Regions from separate parts of the Homo sapiens genome. Here regions 1, 3 and 4 are each linked to region 2. The links are contacts of gene promoters, found by promoter capture Hi-C in blood cells and fetal thymus (Javierre and others, 2016). All regions are on one chromosome and are shown on one strand. The core of a region is centred on a gene start or on the middle of the fragment in contact, and the rest is flanking DNA. Distances in the headings are between cores, read along the strand shown. Region 1 holds the start of RPL30 (ribosomal protein L30). Region 2 holds the start of TSPYL5 (TSPY like 5). Region 3 has its middle 2.9 kb from the start of CPQ. Region 4 holds the start of SDC2 (syndecan 2).

Region 1 (2,775 bases), core at 12-2,511, 770 kb after region 2:
CCCATGGGACAAGACAGAAAGGGCCCTCCAGGCTTTGACGGTAACTACAGACACCCTATATAAAATGCTGTAAGCAGCTTATGCATCACCACAGAAAATTTGCTCACATAGCTTATACTCTGCAAGGTCCAAGTTTGTTTGGCTTATTTACAACACCCCCTAAGTTCAATTTCAAAACAGTGAGTCAAGCATAAATCTTGACTCAGAACTGATTTAGCGGGCTAAACTAGGTGATTCTATGATAGCCTGCAACTCCATAGCCCAGCCTCAACTTTTCTTACCTAGTTTTTTGACACTAAAACAAGTTCACACAATGAAGCATCATTAAAGCACCTCAAAGCTAAAAGAACCAAAAAAGCAGGACACAAAATACATGGAAAAAACAGTAATGTGTCTGTGTTTCCATTAAACCTCGATGTTCTGTTTTCACTCCTGCCACACACACACATTTCTCCTCCAAAAATAAGCTCACAGAAGGGGAGCACACGATTTGGGGGTGGGTCGGGGAGACGGGAATGAAGGGCCAAACACCACAATCGCTACCGTAATTATCCTGCAAGTGTTCGAGTTCATGGTACTCAGATTACAAGTTTACACTCCTGTATATTCGTTCACGATGAATTCGCGGTAGGCGAAGCCCGTTCAGTCTCTTCGATTACCTCAAAGCTGGGCAGTTGTTAGCGAGAATGACCAATTTCGCTTTGCCTTGTCTGATCATCTTCAGAGTCTGCTTGTACCCCAGGACGTACTTCCCACTTTTCATAACGAGTTGGAGCCTAGAGTTGATCGACTCCAGCGACTTTTTCTACAAAGCAAACATTAAATACGGACCTAAGGGCCTCGCCTGCAACCGCCTCAAAACCGGACCCAGCTTTTTGAAGCCGAGCCCCTTAAACTTCCGAAGTCGAGGACCCCAAGTCATTGAGAGGGCCACTGGGATTCCTTCTGGGGCCCTCCAAATGCCAGCAGGCATGCTGTCACCCCCGTGGGCTCACATCTGCCCGCCCTGGCCAAGACATCTCTCCACGTGAATCGTCTTCCGGGCCTGGCCCGCCTCACTCACCGTCTTCTTTGCGGCCACCATCTTCCTGCCTTAGGAGCGGGACGGCCCCCAACCTAGAAGAGACAGAGAACAGGACAGGAATTTTAGGATCCGGAGTTACAAATGGCAACCCGCAAAGCTCCCCGCGCTGCCTAAACCTCGGTCGGTAGGAGCCCACTCACCAACAGCAGCCGCTAAGATGGCCGGGGAACGAGAAAGGAAAGACTTCCCACAATGCAAAGCTCTTCACGGCAGAGCCGGAACTGCGGGACCGGAAGCGGAAACAGATCGCAAGCAGAAGGGGCGGAGCAAAAGCGGAGGGCAGCTGCCGGTTGCTATTGGTACCGCTAGCTAGAATGGCTGCGGGGGCCGTACGCGGCTGCTCATACCTTTAATCCCAGCACTTTCGGAGGTTGAGGCGGGAAGATCTGTTGCGTCCAGCTCAAGGCCAGCCTGGACAACATAGACCACCCCTGTCTCTACAAAAAAATAAAAAAGAAATAAAAAAGAAATTAGCCGGGCGTGGTGGCGCGCTCCAGTAGTCCTAGCTACTCCCAGCTACGCCGGAGGCTGAGGCGGAGAGGTCGCTTGAGCTCGGTAGGTCGAGGCTGCAGTGAGCCATGATCGCGCCACTGCACTCAGCCTGGGCGACAGAGTGAGACTCTGTCTCAAAGAAGGAAAAAAAAGAATGACGGCGGGGGTGTTCTTTTCCCCCTCTGCGGGCCTTTAAGCTTCGCGGCGTTGTGTTGCTGTTCTGCTGCGAGCTGCGGTCTAACTAATCGAGGCGCTTAGAACCCGGAGGGAGTTCGAAAAGCCGACTGAAGGTGAGGTGGGAGGGTAGATGAGAAGAGGCTGCGGCGGCTGCGACCACGGTCTCAATGCCGCTGAATTCATCTTTGTCCTGAGGCGCGGCTCTTGGAGAGCCTTGTGGGTGACTCCGATGCGCCGCAGCACCCGCATTTACTCTCCGCTTGGTAGAAGCAGCTGTGTCCTCACCCCTGCGGTCACCCAAGTTACCTGTCCCCTGGAGAACGGTGGCGCCCTGCTCGAGTTTCCCAAAACTCGCCTTTTGTGACTGTGTTAGCGTGAACTTGTGAGCCGAGTTTGCACTGAGAGCGCGATAAACAGGTCTAATTTTTTAAAAGTATTTTTGCTGTTAACGTTGGATCTTGGTATAAATGTCCAGAGACAGACCACTGAAGATATTAGGCGCTGAAAATCCCCACCTAATCAATCAGACCAGTGGATAAGCTATATGAGGGAAACCTCTTCCCCTCCTTAATTAAGCCTCACCAAAAAACGCGTGCTGTACCAGGAATCATTTACATATATTTATTTAATACTCACAAAAGTCCCATGAGATAGTAACCTTTTTATTGTCCATTTTACATATCTAGGCCTATTGTCAGAGCTAGGACCAGAGCCCAGGTAACTTAGGTCTCTTCACAATTAAAGTTGATTCAGGCCGAATGCGGTGACTCACGCCTGTAATCCAAACATTTTGGAAGTCCGAGGTGAGCGGATCACCTGAAGTCAGGAGTTCGAGACCAGTCTGGTCAACATGGTGAAACCCCACCTCTACTAAAAATACAAAAAGTAGCCAGGTGTGGTGGCTCCTGCCTGCAATCCCAACTACTTGGGAGGCTGAAGCAGGAGAATCGCTTGAACCTGGGAGGCAAAGGTAGCAGTGAGCTGAGATCGGGCCACTGCACTCCAGCCTGGGCGACAAAGCG
Region 2 (2,781 bases), core at 73-2,572:
CACCCCAGGCTGAGTAGTCTCCATTGGCTGCTTTCCTGGACCTTGCCTGCCTTCTTTTTCCTTTCCTTTCTCTACACGAGCCCCTTCACTCAAAAGGTAGAACTGCAAGGGATTGGGCCACAATTCTTCGTTGATTATCTCCACAATCTTGTCAGACTCAATGGAGCTGTGGTTTGAAAACCACCCAAAGAAACTACGGTTGTTTTCTGGGTTTCCCTGGCTTAGGGACTGGAGATCATGCCCTGGGAGCCACTGGATTGGAGTAGAACGAGACACCACCTGGCCAGAAGGACCACACCCATATTCCTTGATGAGCACCTTATTTTGGAAATACGGGTTGCGATCGAAGTAGAACTTGATTTTGTAGCCCAATCTGGCAAGGCCGAGCTCTTCCACTTCCAAGCTGTTTAAGTAGCTCAGTACCTCTTTCTCTTGGCTATTCAGAAAGGATGCTAGCTGGGGATGGTTCTGAAATGCTTGCCCCCAGAAGCCCGGGATATTTTGGATGAGGTGGTTCCTGCGCTCCAAGTGCTGCAGTCGCAACTGCCCAAACTTCCTGGAGAGCCGAAGGTAGGCCCTGTCCGCCTGGGCGTTCATGTTCTCCAGCTTCAGCTGCACGTTCTCCAGCGTATCCATGCTGCCTTCCGTCGCTGGGGGCCCCGACCCTGCATCCCTCTCTTCCTTCTTTTCCTCCCCAGCTGACACCGAGGTATTCTCCCCTGCCGCCCCTTTCTTCTGCCTCCCACCAGCTATGACCTGAGGCCCCCTCCCCGCGGTGCTACAGGTTTCTGGGGCCTTCTTCCCGGCAGGGCCACGCCGGTTTCCAACGCGGGGGGCATTTTTCGGCCTTCCCACGGTTCCCGCTGTTCCCACGAAGACAGTGTCTGCGGCCAGGCGCTCCGAGAGAGATGCGGCCTTCCCCGGGCCGGGCCTGGCCGCGGCCTGCCCGTGGTCCCCCGCAGCTCGGGCCCGCAGCGCGAGGCCACAGTCCAGGGGGAGCCGGCAGGCGGCCTCCTCCCCGAGCCGGAGGAGCTGCGCGGACGCAGCGGCTTCCAGGCCACCCCACCCCGCGCCAGCCTGCACCTGTGCCGCCTGGGTGTCTTCCCCGAGACTCTGGTACTGTGAAGGGTCCGGGTCGCGCGGGGCGTCGTCCGGAGCAGGGCGGACTCGGGCTTTGGCGCGGCCTTTGCCCCGGTTTTTGGCGCGGGAGGACTTTCGACCCCGACTTCGGCCGCTCATGGTGGCGGCGGAGGCAGCTTCAAAGACACGCTGTGACCCTGCGGCTCCTGACGCCAGCTCTCGGTCGGGACCGAGCGGGTCTCTCCACGGCAACCGCCGACGTCACGAACGTACAACTGTACCGTCGCGAGAGGACGTGATGCGCCCGGTGATTGGCGCCGCCGCTGCGGCTGCGCAGGAGACGACCCCCGCGGGCGCTCCCACCCCCATCTCGCGCGGACTCGCTTTAGGTCTCGGCGAGTTTCTCTGATATGCGCTCGCGGGGGTGCTGCCATTTCATCTCTTCCGCGCGGGCTCATCGTGCTCTCAGGGTCTCGTTGAACAAGGCAACGCTAAGAGCCATCACCACCTGTCCCCCATCACCTGTTTTCTAAACTAAACATCTTCAGCTCCTCCAGTTATCTCTTGTGGCATCTGTCATGAAGAAAGTGCTCGGGCGTGTGTGTCTCTCTTTGAACACCTTTGCTGAGGGATTTGCTCTGGTACCTTAACTCCAGAGAACGTAAAGGTGGATGCTATAATGCCGGGCGTCAAAGCGATTTGGTACGCAGTAAGATGATAGTAGAAATTATAAAAATAATGGCAACTAGTATTTTGTATCATTTGTGCCAGGCACTTTACTAGGTGCTTTAAATGCATTATCTCAATTTACAAAGGAGGTGTTGATATCATTCCCATTTTCGAGATAAGAAAACTGCATCTCAGAGACACCCGGGCACATTCCCCAGGTTACACAGTAAGGGATGGAAGCACAATTCAAACTCAAGCCCATGGGACTCCGTATCCTATGCCTTATATTTGGAAATGGCAAGTCCTTCCAGACTTGTTCCACTGTCAATTACTGGGCTGGCTCTTAAGAAATCAGCCTTGCTCCTTAACAAACAGGCTTCCGTGGACCACCTGACCACCTCTTCTGCCTGGGAACATCACCCGAGTCCCCCAGCTGCCTCAGTTTACAGATCTGGACTATCACTCTAGGTATAGGACCAGAAGTGAAGACCTGTATTAGAGCTCCTGTAATTGGAGTAAGACAAGAATGTGGTGAGAGGTGAAATTATTATTCAGGGAGCAGATTGAGGTTCAGAAGCAGAGCCTCCACGTGGCACTGCAGAAGCCCTAGAAACTTCTTACACTGTGCATGGAAACAGCCGGACAACCTCCCCCACAGTCCCGGAGGCAGCCCTGGACCACGCTCTTACTAGTGAGGTAATAGGACCATGAACAGTGAGGGGACCTGTGGCTAATGTAAAAATATAAAGAAAAACCTTTTGAGGTGGTCTTTTCAGGCTCAAAGGGAACAAAAAGGCCCTTGTAACCAGCTAGTGGAGAGATAAGCCCAAAAGCCCCGGGACCTCATTACTCAAAGTGTGGTTGTGGACCAGCAGCCTGATATCACCTGAAAGCTTGTTAAAGATGCAGAATCTCAGGCCTTTCCCCAGACCTACTAAGTCAGAATTTGAATTTTAACAAGATCCTGGGTGATTTGTATACACCCCTAAGTTTAAGGAAACAATTTAAAGAGGAATTATTTTTATACAGATG
Region 3 (2,969 bases), core at 321-2,820, 640 kb before region 2:
TTATTTCAGAAAGATAGTCTTCAAGCTCTGAGATTCTTTCCGCCACTTGGTCTATTCTGCTATTGATACTTGTGATTGCATTGTGAAGCTCTTGTGTTGTGTTTTTCAGCTCCATCAGGTCAGTTATATTCCTTTCTCACCTATTCTTGTTATCTGGCTATCAGCTCCAGTATTGTTTTATTATGTTTCTTAGCTTCTTTGCATTGGGTTACAACATGCTTCTTTAGCTCAGGAAAGTTCGTTGTTACCCACCTTCTGAAGCATACTTCTGTCAGTTCAGCCATCTCAGCCTCAGTCCAGTTCTGTGCCCTTGCTGGGGAGGGGTTGTGGTCATTTGCAGGAGAAAACGCACTCTGGCTTTTTGGGTTTTCAGCATTTTTGCGTTGATTCTTTCTCATCTTTGTGGGCTTATCTACCTTTAATCTTTGAGGTTGTTGACTTTGAATGAGGTTTTTGTGGGGTCTTTTTTGTTGATGGTGTTGTTGTTGTTTTGTTTGTTTTTCTCTTAACAGTCAGGCCACTTGACTGCTGCAGTTTGCTGGAGATCCGCTCCAGACCCCAGTTGCCTCACTTTTTCCTGTATCTGGAGGTATCACTAGTGAAGGCCACAAAACAGCAAAGATGGCAGCCAGCTTCTTCCTCTGGAAGCTTCATCTTGGGTGGTTTCTGATCTGTTGCCAGCCCTCATACACCTGCAGCAGGTGGTTAGAGACCCCCATTGGGAGGTTTCACCCAGTCAGGAGGAACGGGATTAGGGACCCACCCAAAGAAGTAGTCTGGCTGCTTTTTGTAGAGCAGGTGTGCTGTACTGGGAGTGGGGGTGGGTGGGGCCCTCATAGTCTGGACCACCTGTATTCTCCACAGCTGGTAGGCTGGATCAGCTGAGTCCACTGAACCATAAAGATGGTGGTTGTCCCTCTCCAAGGCAACCTGTCCCAGGGAGATATCAGAGCTCTCTCCATAGCGCCCTGGCTGGAGTGACTGAAGCTCCTGCAGGGAGGACCCACCCATGAGGAGGAATGGATTGGGGTCCCACTTAAAGAAGCAGTCTGGCTGCAATTTGGCAAGGCAGCTGTGCTACATTGTGGGGGACCCTTCCTTGTATGGTCCATCTGTATTATCCACAGCTGGCAGGCTTGAATGGCTGAGTCTACTGAACTGCAGAGATGATGGCCTCCCCTCCCTCCAGGAGCTCTGTCCCAGGGAGAGATCAGAGCTCTGTTCATAAAACAGTTGCTGGAGGGGCTTAAGGAGGTCCTCTCTAGCGAGGAGGAATGACTTGGGGTCCCGCTTACAGAAGCAGTCTGGCTGCTTTTTGGTAGGGCAGGTGTGCTGCATTGTAGCAGAGGGAACCCTTCCTAGTTTAGACCGTCTGTATTCTCCACATCCAGGAGGCTGCAGCAGCTGAGTCGGCTGAATCACAGAGACGGCAGCTGCCCCACCTGCTGGGAACTCAAACCTGTCTCAGGCAGACTCCTATCCACTGCCATTGGCTGGCTGGGATTCCAAGCTGGTGGGTCTTAACTTGTGGGGTGTCATGTAAGTGGGGCCTGAAGAATGGTATTGCTTGGCTCCCTGGATTCAGCCCCCTTCCTACAGATGGATTTCCTGCCTTGCTGATGATTGTGGCCAGAGTATGTAAAACTTCTGGGCCTCTTTGTATGTGCCTGAGTGGCTGCTCTGTCAAGACAACACACAGCTCTGTGTATCAGACTCAAGGCCCTGGTGGTGTGGAGTCATGAGGGGGTCTCTTGATCCACAGGTTGCAAAGATTCATGGGAGAAGCATGGTTTCCTGGGTTGCACAATCACTCACCACTTCCCTTGGCTGAGGGTGGAGGTTCCTTTGGCTCTGTGCTGCTCCGAGGTGGGCTCCCCACCCTGCCCAACTTTTCTTCATTCTCCATGGGCCGGTGGTTTGCCTAGTCAGTCCCAATGAGAGAACCTGGATATTTCAGTTGAAGGTACTGAATTCACTTGCCCCTTCTCATTCCTCCCTGAGTGCTGCGGGCAGGGGCTTCTAATTGGCCATTATGGATTGATCTCCCTGCAGTGAAGTGTTCTAAGTAGGAAGAACACATGGTATTGTGGAAAATCAACATAGCATGGTGGCTCAGAAATAGATTCTGGAGCCAGGCAGGTTGCTTGGTTTGGAATTCTGGTCCTGCAACTTACTGCAACCTCTCTATGCCTTAGTTTCCTCACAGTTTAAAGAGGGATAAAATAATATCTATAGGTCTATTTGCGAGGTTTTAAAATTCTTGGAATAGTACCTGGCTCATTATACATGCTATAGAAATGCTTATTCAATTAAATAAATAAAAGCATCTTTGGTAAGATAACTCTGAACATTGTATGGTTTAGTAGAGGATGCTGACAAGAATAAATAATTAAAACATATCATGAAGTAAGCATAAAAGATAGTGGTAATGCAAAGATGCGAATGAGCTCTGCTTCCTGTGATTAGTGTGAGCAGACAAATTCACTGTACTCAGAAGCTTAAAGCCTAGCGTGGGAAGCTGACATGAATGAAAACCAACGGGAAAAAATGTTAGAGTAGAGGTGTAAGCAAGAGTGATTAATTTCAACTTGAAAGCAAATGGGGGAGGTTTCACAGAGAGGGGCCCAGCATGTTGGTTGATTGCTTGGGCTCCAGAATCAGGCCAGCTCAGTTTAATGCTGACTTTGTACCTCACTGGTTTTGTGACTTGACCTCTCTAATCCTCCATCTCCTTATCTGTACAGTGGGGGGAAATAATAATGATAATAATAGGTAGCTCATAGGACAAATAAGAATTCACAGTTAATGCATCAAAAATCTTAGCACAAGGCACTCAATAAATGTGAAGCTTTTATTGTTATTACGAGTTGAAACTTGAGTGGGAAAGAACTTCGTTCACATTAAACATGAGAAAAGGCCCAGAAGTTGAAAAGCATTTGACATAATTAAAGAACAGCAAGTCAGTGCCA
Region 4 (3,243 bases), core at 358-2,857, 780 kb before region 2:
ACTTCTGGCCTATTGCTCTTTTTCTTCTTTCTCCTTTGCCTACTCTTCTATTTCTCCATATTACCTTTTTGTTGGCCAATGCCTTAGACTTGCTCATGAGCATTTGTAGGTTTGGTAGCTGGCACACAAAACCAAAGGAATAAGTGTCTCCAAGTTTGAGTTGTAATTCTCCAGTTAAATTTCTTTCTTTGAGATTTATTACAGTAATAGGTTACTAAGACATTTAATTCTCACTGAGGGTATGACTGTATTTTATTCTAATACTGAGTTGAAAAATTACCATGGCCTCATATCTATATATCTACATTGGTGTATTTTAAAGGCTCACAACTCTTATACGGTATAAATTGAGCTTTAGAGCAAAATTTATTCAAGATAATATTTATCATGTGTCTTTATGTACCAGGAATGAGAATACAATGGTGAACAGACAGAAAAGTCTCTGGTTTCCTGTAGTGGGCATTCCAGGAGCAGAATGGCGTCATAATTCATTTACTCTATAAGTCAGAGAGAAAAATGATGGCACGAACTGCAAGGGATTTGTGTGTAAAATTTGTGACAGTAAGAAAAAGAAACTGGAAGGGAATACGCATTTGCCATGTTCTATAATATGCCACAGACATTGTAACAAAATATTTCATGTCAGCTACTTCCATTTAGGAAATACATGTTCATTATTTTCTTCAAACTAAGAATTACTTTATCCCTCTTTTCTTTGAAGTTATCTTAAATCTGTTATTATTCAGGGTCTCTATCCAACTTCTCATCAAATTACCCTATTTGTAGCTTCCAAACGTTAACACCTATCTGCTAAAATGGAGCCTATAAAAAGCCTTAGTGGCATAAACTGTGTGTGAGGGAGAAATGGTATTTAAGCCCTTAATGAAGTTAGGAGCTTTCAAACTGTTGCACTTTGGGTTTACAGGATCCTTCCTCCATGTCCCTTTTTTGGGGGTGCGGAAGGATTTGGGAGAATGGGAAACACTCTCACTATATATTTATTACATTAATTATCTTCTCTTTTAAAATGCAATTTTCATGAACTGGCGATTTATGAACACTTCACATTGCTTGAAAGCATCTTACACTTTTTTTTTCCCTCAACTCACAAAGCAGTTTCTTTCTACTGGTCGAATTCTCAAGGCAGAAAAGCTACATACGTCTCTCGTTTCTTCACTAATTGTTCTCTAGAAAAGGGAAAGTGAAGAAGGGAAAGAGAAAAGACAACGGGGAAGAAAAGAGCATAGAGGAGAGAGGAAAAGTGGGGAGAGAAAGGAAGAAAAGGACTGAGAAAACGCAGGAGCCCTGGCTTGCCGGTGAGCAGAGCCGGCGCAGCCACAGCGCGGAGCCGCGGCGCCCACTGGTCCTCGGAGCTGCCAATCGGCGTGTAATCCTGTAGGAATTTCTCCCGGGTTTATCTGGGAGTCACACTGCCGCCTCCTCTCCCCAGTCGCCCAGGGGAGCCCGGAGAAGCAGGCTCAGGAGGGAGGGAGCCAGAGGAAAAGAAGAGGAGGAGAAGGAGGAGGACCCGGGGAGGGAGGCGCGGCGCGGGAGGAGGAGGGGCGCAGCCGCGGAGCCAGTGGCCCCGCTTGGACGCGCTGCTCTCCAGATACCCCCGGAGCTCCAGCCGCGCGGATCGCGCGCTCCCGCCGCTCTGCCCCTAAACTTCTGCCGTAGCTCCCTTTCAAGCCAGCGAATTTATTCCTTAAAACCAGAAACTGAACCTCGGCACGGGAAAGGAGTCCGCGGAGGAGCAAAACCACAGCAGAGCAAGAAGAGCTTCAGAGAGCAGCCTTCCCGGAGCACCAACTCCGTGTCGGGAGTGCAGAAACCAACAAGTGAGAGGGCGCCGCGTTCCCGGGGCGCAGCTGCGGGCGGCGGGAGCAGGCGCAGGAGGAGGAAGCGAGCGCCCCCGAGCCCCGAGCCCGAGTCCCCGAGCCTGAGCCGCAATCGCTGCGGTACTCTGCTCCGGATTCGTGTGCGCGGGCTGCGCCGAGCGCTGGGCAGGAGGCTTCGTTTTGCCCTGGTTGCAAGCAGCGGCTGGGAGCAGCCGGTCCCTGGGGAATATGCGGCGCGCGTGGATCCTGCTCACCTTGGGCTTGGTGGCCTGCGTGTCGGCGGAGTCGGTGAGTGGGCCAGGCGGAGGATGCGCGCGCCGTTTAGGGTGTTTGAAGCTACGAGAGGAGCCCGCAGGGAATAGGGGAGCGCCACCTGGGGAACCCCCAGTCCCCAAGTATACACCGGAGATCCGCTGGGACAAATGCGCTCGTCCGGTCACCCTTTCCCCCTCTTCCCTTCCTCAGAAAAGCGCTGCTCGCTGGCGTTACCCCGCGGTCCGCGGGAATGGGGGCACCGAGAATTGCGGTTTGGTCTAGCCGCAGAGGCCCCTGAAGTCACTCCCAACTTCTTCGCCCTCGGCGGGTCTTGCTGCGTGGTCTGGGAAGGACGGAGGGGAAAGGGTGGCAGGAGGGGGGAGCCTGGGTCGGGCCCGCGAGGGAACGGCTCCACTCCGCGCGCTCCTCGAGACCAGGGATGACCTGGAAACTTCGGGGTCCCTTCCTCCGCACACCATCCCCCCCGCGCCAGCTTTCCTGTTTGACTGCATGCAAGTTCTGGGGAGATGGGGGCCAGATTTAAGAGACCCGCGAGTGTCCAGAGAGAAAAGTTTGCAAAAGTTCTTTTGTTTGATGCTCCCTGCGGCTAGGGCGAGGTAACCGACACTACGTGGAATCGCAGTAGGCGATCCCTCAAGGGGATACTGGGGGAGGCACGGAACGCGTCCGAAAATGCTGGGACGCCGGCCACTGGATTCCCAGTCCTGCGGCGACCCCCTCCTCGTTGAGGGGTGGAGGTTGCACCGCGGGGCGTCAGGGACGGGAGGACATTTTCATAGGAGTTACACGGGAGTGCCGCAAGCAGGGCGAGGCGGGGTACGTGTGACACGGCGCTCGGCTTCGGGTCGCCTGGCCGCTGGGGGACAGAGGCTTCCCTCCCGCCACGCTCGCCCTCTCTGGCCCTGGCGGGGCGCTTCTGGGGCCGGGAGGAGTCTCGTCTCCGGCGGAGCGCCTGCCGGCACCCAGCTTCCCTCCCCCGCCCTGGCGGTGGGAACTTGATTTCTCCTTTTGGTCGCGCTTCGGGGGCTGGAGCTTGTTTCCCCACGTCGCCCAATGAGCGCCCTCTAAAGGGAACTGCCTCCTTGGCCTCCTCTCGTCCGCAGCTGCCTCCACCTGGGCGCCAGGAGCT

What was found. The method cuts DNA at HindIII sites, captures the fragments that hold promoters and counts their contacts. A CHiCAGO score of 5 or more calls a contact.
Region 1: a contact is called between the fragment with the promoter of RPL30 here and the fragment with the promoter of TSPYL5 in region 2, in 1 of 17 cell types (fetal thymus). The highest score is 5.7, in fetal thymus.
Region 3: a contact is called between a fragment that was not itself captured here and the fragment with the promoter of TSPYL5 in region 2, in 1 of 17 cell types (naive B cells). The highest score is 5.3, in naive B cells.
Region 4: a contact is called between the fragment with the promoter of SDC2 here and the fragment with the promoter of TSPYL5 in region 2, in 2 of 17 cell types (neutrophils and M0 macrophages). The highest score is 7.0, in neutrophils.

The regions. Positions count from the first base shown.
Region 1 is chr8:98,044,284-98,047,058 of GRCh38, forward strand. It overlaps RPL30 (ribosomal protein L30), which reads right to left and starts at 1,262. Exons shown (of 5, transcript NM_000989.4): 1 at 1,225-1,262; 2 at 1,064-1,116; 3 at 660-805. The coding sequence starts at 1,084. RefSeq lists enhancers at 1,194-1,343, 1,410-2,346, 1,514-1,573, 1,594-1,643. The HindIII fragment of the contact is 12,210 bases long and covers 1-1,771 here.
Region 2 is chr8:97,276,606-97,279,386 of GRCh38, forward strand. TSPYL5 (TSPY like 5) reads right to left here and starts at 1,323. Exons shown (of 1, transcript NM_033512.3): 1 at 1-1,323. The coding sequence starts at 1,239. The region is part of intron 2 of LOC101927066 (a long non-coding RNA gene); the gene reads right to left. RefSeq lists an enhancer at 360-861. The HindIII fragment of the contact is 4,352 bases long and covers 1-2,640 here.
Region 3 is chr8:96,640,902-96,643,870 of GRCh38, forward strand. No RefSeq gene overlaps it. Among named protein-coding and RNA genes, the nearest start is that of CPQ, 2.9 kb to the right of the region's middle. The HindIII fragment of the contact is 1,849 bases long and covers 647-2,495 here.
Region 4 is chr8:96,492,206-96,495,448 of GRCh38, forward strand. It overlaps SDC2 (syndecan 2), which reads left to right and starts at 1,608. Exons shown (of 5, transcript NM_002998.4): 1 at 1,608-2,126. The coding sequence starts at 2,067. The HindIII fragment of the contact is 13,490 bases long and covers 1-3,243 here.